Regions from separate parts of the Homo sapiens genome. Here region 2 is linked to region 1. Evidence: promoter capture Hi-C in 16 types of primary human blood cells and fetal thymus (Javierre and others, 2016). All regions are on one chromosome and are shown on one strand. The core of a region is centred on a gene start or on the middle of the fragment in contact, and the rest is flanking DNA. Distances in the headings are between cores, read along the strand shown. Region 1 holds the start of ADGRG6 (adhesion G protein-coupled receptor G6). Region 2 overlaps NMBR (neuromedin B receptor).

Region 1 (3,385 bases), core at 451-2,950:
GCTTCCCAAAGTGCTGGGATTACAGGCATGAGCCACCGTGCCTGGCAGTTATTTATATTTATTTGCTCTTATGTTTCCAGGTTTCTTCTAACTTTAAAATTCTATGACTGGAACAAATACATATGTGAACTTGGAAGTAGATCTTTCCCCTGTCCAGCCTTCAGATCAGACCACAGCCTTAGTCACCACTCCAATTGTGGCCTCCTGAGAGACACTGAGCTAAGGGCATCCAGGTTCTTGACCCACAAACTGTGAAATACATGTTGCTTTTAAAAAATTCCAAGAGTGGCCCTTAAATTTCTTTGGGACTATACCGTGTAATAGCGACTGACTCAAAAGGGTAGTCTGGAAACCTAATCTTAGCCCCTGGTCACCTCTAGCTAGTGTGCACAGACCTCAGATCTTGTCAGTCTCATTTCCCTACCTGTTAACGTGAGACAGTTGGGCAGAAGAACTTTAGCTTCCCTTAAATGCTACAACTCAGCGTCTCTATTAATCATACCGTTTATTCATCAAAATGAATACTGATAAAAATGACAAGTAGAACACACCCTAGATGTTCAGGCCTCTGGAATTGGTGGCAGCGTTCCAGCTTCCTTTCTGCCTGTAACTGTGAGTAAGTCCTGCTTTACCTCCTTCCCACCCCCCGCACCCACCAACAGCTCTCTATCATAAGCTAATCAGCTTGAAATAATTGTTAGGGCACTTCTGTGTATGGCCTGTGCATGTGCCAGTGTGTACACCGTGCAAGCTGAGCTGTTGAGGTTCTGGATGTGCATACAGCCCTGGCACCGGAAGGTTTGCCTCTAGCATTTTGTGGACTAACTCTGGCAGTACACAATGGGAAGAAAACCTCTTTCCAAGTGTGAGCCCTTCTCTCTTCTCATTCCCAAGGAGGTGTGTCCAGATCCCTTTGCCAGACAGCTACTTTACAGGAGCATTGGAGAGCAGGCAGCTAACTTTCCCCAACAAGCAGCTGGATTTACGTTGGCAAATCAATCCCTCTCAATAAAATGTTATGTGACCATCTTCCCAGCCCCCCGTTAAAATCCCTTCATTTTTTCGAGCAAGCGAACTAGTCAGAGAAGACAGAAAAGTTAAGTAAAGAAAGTGGCAGAAAAGTGAAGCAAAGCAACAGCCCGGGAGCGTGGCGGGGGGACCCGCGCGGGGACTCGGGTAGGCTGCAAACGCTGGGGAGATGCCACAGGAGCGCCTGCCTTCCCAGCTTCTCCTTTCTCTCGCCGAGGGTCTCTGGGGTTCAGCGCTCCCGGCGTTTCGGCGACCTCCGGGTCCGCCCTGTCCCCTCCCAGCTGGGGAGCTGAGCCCGGCTCTGCGCCCATCGCCGACCCCGGCCACTCTCCCTTCGCTGCTCGCTCCAAAAGCGCCTGTCCCGCCCCGCGGGGCGACTTCTCCCTTTCGGCCCTGGGGTTGAAGATCCTGTGTGGGGCAGCTGCGCCTTCGGGACAGCCCCAGCCGCGGAGCGCCCAGACCAGGGCAGCCGGAGTCGGGTCATACGCCGCACGCCGCCGGGGCCGCCGCACCTGAGCCCAGCTCCAGTCACGCCGGAAGCGCGGGCGGAGCGCACGGGTCCGGGGAGAGTCGCCTGCGCCCGCGAGGGGGACCCAAGTACCTAGGGTGGTGGCCGAGTCCCGCCTCCCGCCAGCGGGGGCGAGGACCTGCGACGCGCACCCCTGCCTGGCCCGGTCTCCTCAGCACCAGCCCCACGCACACCCTACTTCCTCAGCTTCTCGCCCTCACCCTGCCAACTTCCCTGCGAGGAGGGACCTGCCGCCAGCCTGCTTCCTCGTCCGCAGGCCCTGCGCTGAACGCTGCCGCGCCCAGGGTTCACCTTGCGCCGTCGGGAAAGCCCATGAACTCTCCAGAAACGGCGTAAAGGAGGGTCCCGCCGCGGCGCAGGGCTGGGGCGCCTGGGTTCCCCCTGGGTGGAGCAGCGGCAGCAGAGCGGGAAAGTGGTGGAGGATGATCTTGCGGCCAAAGGGGACCTCGGCGCAGTAATGTCAACATGTAAGTCTCACCTTTCAGCTTGGAATTCCTTCACTCTTTTATCTGTGTCCACCTTCTGTCGCCCCCTCCCCGACCACCCCACCCTCAAGAGAAATGATTTTATAAGGACTTCAACTGCACGGAGGGAATAAACCGGTTTGTCTTCAGTTTGCCCCTCGAGGCACTGAGGAGTAGGACTATTGCCAAGTGGAGTTGTGACATGTGTGTGTGGCTGTTTTTTTTCCCCCAGCGAGGTAAACCTCACATTTGGGCGGTGTAAAGCCTAATAAGAAGGGCAGGGCTTCAAGAATGGGGAAAACGTGTTTTCAATTCAAATTAAACAAGGAGTAACAGGCACCGCTCCTCAGTCCAGAGGCCTGGCCCTGCCAAGAAGGCGCTCTCCGGAATCAACACCTGGGGGCTTGGAAGGTACTAGTATGCCGAGAAAATGTTGACTTTACACATTGTCACCATTGACTGTAGAAGTTATTCTTGGATCTTTGGGGTGTTTGAATTTTTTTAAGGTGTGCAGAAAATGTTTTCAGTGTGCTTTGTAGTTTAGGAAGTAATTAAGGGTTACGCCACGTTACGTGATAGGATTTGAGGGGACTTCCATAGACTTATGGGGGGCGTGGGGAATTGGGGCATTGAAACAGAGAAACCTAAAAGGTTTTGCCTCCATAGAATTGTCATCCTAATGGTGAGGTGGCGCACAGCGACCCCATGAAAGGGTCGCCAAGCACCGTCTGGCTTTCCAGAATGGGAAAAGGAAGATTGTACTCCAAAGGGCCAAGCTTATTTTTGTGGCCAACTAAGAAGTTTCTTTTTCTTGTAATAGGTAATTTTCCTTCTGATGTTTTAGTTAATCTTGGACGGACACCGTGACAGACATTTTATCCCCTTCCACTAACTCATGTACAACAATTTCTAGAACTTGGTACTTAACACTCCTTCCCCCAACTCCTGGATCTTACATGAATTTACTCTTTCAGTTCAGTACATGGGGAAAGACCTGCCCCCTAGGTCCTGTTTTTCCACACTTTCCTGCACTTTCCATTCCCTACTTCCCCACTCCCCAACACACATTTTAAAATAGGAGAAAGAAAGGATAGTGCCCACAAGCCTAGCACTCTGTAACTCTGTTCCAGGTACTGTGAGATGTAATCAGAAATGAACCACTTATTTTTACTGAAACTGCATGTGAAATAATTCCACACCTGGGAGTTTTAAAGTTTCATTTATGCCAGTGGAATCGGCAAGGTACAACTTGAAAAAATTTATTTTGGGATACAGCCAGCATTTTCATATAAGACTTGTTCTCATATACAGGCTACACATTTTGAAGTAATATGAGCTTGTTTTCAACTTCAGTTTTTCTTGA
Region 2 (3,385 bases), core at 753-3,252, 160 kb before region 1:
TTTTCCATTTGTGTTTAACGTTGAACTGGAATTCAATAAGACAAAAACAAAATAAACATATATATATAAATATATATTTATGCAATAAGTACAATAACACAAACAATATATGAATTGCAAAATAATAAATCTTTATTCACAGACATGGTCATGTACATAGAAAATTCTAAAGAACGTTCCAAAAAATTAAATTTATAGGCCAAGCACTGTGGTTCATGCCTGTAATCCCAGCACTTTTAGAGGTGAAGCCAGTAGGATCGCTTGAGTCTAGGAGTTTGAGATTAGCCTAGGCAATATAGCAAGACTCCACCTCTACAAAAAATAAGAAAATTAGCCAGGCATGGTGGTGCCTGCCTGCAGTCCCAGCTACTCCAGAGGCTGAGGTAAGAGGATGACTTGAGCCCAGGAGTTTGAGGCTGCAGTGAGCTATGATTGCACCACTGCCCTCTAGCCTGGGGGACGGAACAAGACTCTAACTTTAAAAATATATATAAATAAACTTATGAGGAATAATTTTTCTATAGAGTAATAAAAAATAAAATTTAAATGTAAAAAATCATTTACAATGCAATAAAAAATATGAAATGCATAGTGATAAATTTTTCAAAATATGTGCTAGACCTGTACAATGAAAACTACGAAACAGTGATGAAAATAATTAAAGACTTTTTAATTTTAATTTTATTTTTTATTTTTTGAGACGGAGTCTCGCTCTGTCGCCCAGGCTGGAGTGCAGTGGCACAATCTTGGCTCACTGCCACCTCTGCCTCCCGGGTTCAAGCGATTCTCTTGCCTCAGTATCCCAAGTAGCTGGGATTACAGGCATGTGCCACCACACCCTGCTAATTTTGTACTTTTAGTAGAGCCGGGGTTTCTCCATGTTGGCCAGGCTGATCACAAACTCCTGACCTCAGGTGATCCACTCTCCTCGGCTTCCCAAAGTGCTGGAATTACAGGCGTGAGCCACTGCACCATTTTAAGTGGAAAAATAAACCATGTCGAGTAAGGCTTGGCAGTCTTACTCATTTGTAACTTTAGTCATTATAAACTGATCTGTAAATTCAATATAATTCCAGTCAAAATCCTAGGAAACTTATATAGAAATTGACAAGCTGTTTCTAAAATTTATATGGAAATACAGGAGATGTAGAATAGCCAACACAATTTTGCAAAAGCAAAGGAAAAAAAAAAAACAGACAGAGGACTTACACTACATACTCTGAAGACTTCTTTAAAGGTACAATAATCAAAATCATGTGGACCGGGCATGAAGATAGGCATATGGAATGGGAACAATCAAGAGACTGGAAATATGTTTGCTCGTATATAGTTAGCTTATTGTTTTAAATGTGCTAATGCAATTCACATTTGTGAATACATTATATTCGTATATAGTTAGCTTATTGTTTTAAATGTGCCGGAACAATTAAATATCCGTGTTTAAAACATAAAATGCAATGTTTATAGTGTCTACATGTCCCAGCCATGGGCGGATGGGGTGGCAAATGGTCCTGGCCAAGTTTTCAGGGTCTTCCCTATCATTCTTCTGCGGAAAATTTAAGGAAAAATTATTTCTACTTGGGGGGGATGCTAAAATAATAGGATGTTAGTCTCATGATACTGGAAGCCAAATTTCTACCACATACAGTATCTTAAAAAGATACAGCTATAGATATATATATTATCCTGATTACATTGACTGATGCCCTGTCATTTGCCAACAAGATGGTTCTGACCAAACGGACACAGAATATTTTTATTGTCAGATGATCACACATACATGTGTGTATGTAGGGTATGGTGTAAAACATTTTTTCCCATCAAAACACCTGTCAGCTCTAGTTTCTCTCCATTTTCTTCTTCCTATGGTTGCCCTCACCCCCTATTTTGTTCTACAGCTCTGCCCTCCCCTTACTTGCCAAGGTTCTAGCCCAGTCCTAGAGGGTGATGTCAGATCCTTCAGAAACTGGTCTGAGATGAATGGAGAAGAAGAATGTAGGTCTTTCTAGTAAAATATCATAGTAAAACAAGAAAAAGCAACCTCACAGTCATTAATATTTGTTTTATAGCATAATTTCAATGTGTGTTACACTAACACTGTCTCTGTACTGTTCTCCATCAAATCAATTATCATCTCATGAAAGGGTTAGCATATTTAGAAAGAAGAGAGCATGAGGCTCTTGTCTGTAATCTCAGCACTTTGGGAGGCCGAGGCAGGAGTATCACTTGAGACTAAGAGTTCAAGACCTGCCTAGGCAACAAAATAATAATAATTAGCCATAGTGTTATGTGCCTGTGGTCCCAGTTACTCAGGAGGCTGAGGCAAGAAGATCCTTGAGCCCAGGAGTCCAAGACTGCAGCGAGCTCTGATAGTGTGCTGCACTCCAGCTTAGGTGACAGAGTGAGAACCTGTCTAAAAAAAAAAAAAAAAAAAGAAAGAAAAAAAGAAGGAAGGAAGGAGAAAAGAAAGAAAAGAAAAGAGCATGTGTTGGCAGATCAGAGAGTAAAATCCAACTCCAACCATTTCACTTTCTTATTTTTCCCTCAGTCCTGCTCATGAGGGTATGCAAATAAGAGTACACATGAATGTATGCAAATGAGAAAGAGTGGCAAAATTCACTTCTGAAGGGGGAGATCAGGAGAGTAACAGGAGGGTGCAGCCTTCTACCAGGAAGAGGAACATTTGTTTCTCAGACATAAGATGATGGAATAGAGAAAAGATAAAACATAAGATCTAGAAAGACATCATAGTCAAGTAGTAATGGCTAGGTGCACAGGCTCTGAAACCAAAATACCTAGATTTTAATGTGGAATACTCATCCTTCCTGGCTGTGACCTAGTGCAAGTTATCTAGATTCTATGTGTCTTATTTTTCTCATCTGTAAAATAATAATGATATGTTCCTCATAGGGTTGTGGTGCAAATTAAATAAATTAATATAAAGACCCTAGAAACATGCATGATACATAGTTGATGCTCAGCAAATGCTGCTAGCTAGTTATTATTACTTTAAGTTGTGGTAGAGGCAAGGCAAAATAATTCATATCTGGTGGTGGCCTTAATCTCAATAGCAGGAAATGCTGTTGTAGACCAAGGAAATTGGGGCTGAGTGCCTAGCTTGAATAGAGCGAGAGAAGTTTGAAACACCATCTGTGGACTACAGCACTGGTCCTTAACCCTAGACGTAACATTAAAATTACATGAGGACCTTTTAAAGATACTGACATTTAGGATCCCACCTAGAACAATTAAGTGAGAATGCCTGGAGTGGGCTTTAAAGTTGATCTTTAAGGGCAGCTGCGGTTGAGAATCAAGAAGTAATAGGAAACAAATAAATGAAAAGTTGTGAGTATAGAAAGAAAACAGTTATGGTTATCCAACTCTG

Evidence for each region. The method cuts DNA at HindIII sites, captures the fragments that hold promoters and counts their contacts. A CHiCAGO score of 5 or more calls a contact.
Region 2: a contact is called between a fragment that was not itself captured here and the fragment with the promoter of ADGRG6 in region 1, in 1 of 17 cell types (monocytes). The highest score is 5.1, in monocytes.

Annotation. Positions count from the first base shown.
Region 1 is chr6:142,300,307-142,303,691 of GRCh38, forward strand. It overlaps ADGRG6 (adhesion G protein-coupled receptor G6), which reads left to right and starts at 1,701. Exons shown (of 25, transcript NM_198569.3): 1 at 1,701-2,025. The coding sequence starts at 2,024. RefSeq lists a silencer at 1,491-1,630. The HindIII fragment of the contact is 4,341 bases long and covers 1-2,796 here.
Region 2 is chr6:142,142,606-142,145,990 of GRCh38, forward strand. All of the region lies in intron 1 of NMBR (neuromedin B receptor), which reads right to left. Among named protein-coding and RNA genes, the nearest start is that of NMBR, 2.8 kb to the right of the region's middle. The HindIII fragment of the contact is 4,167 bases long and covers 1-3,385 here.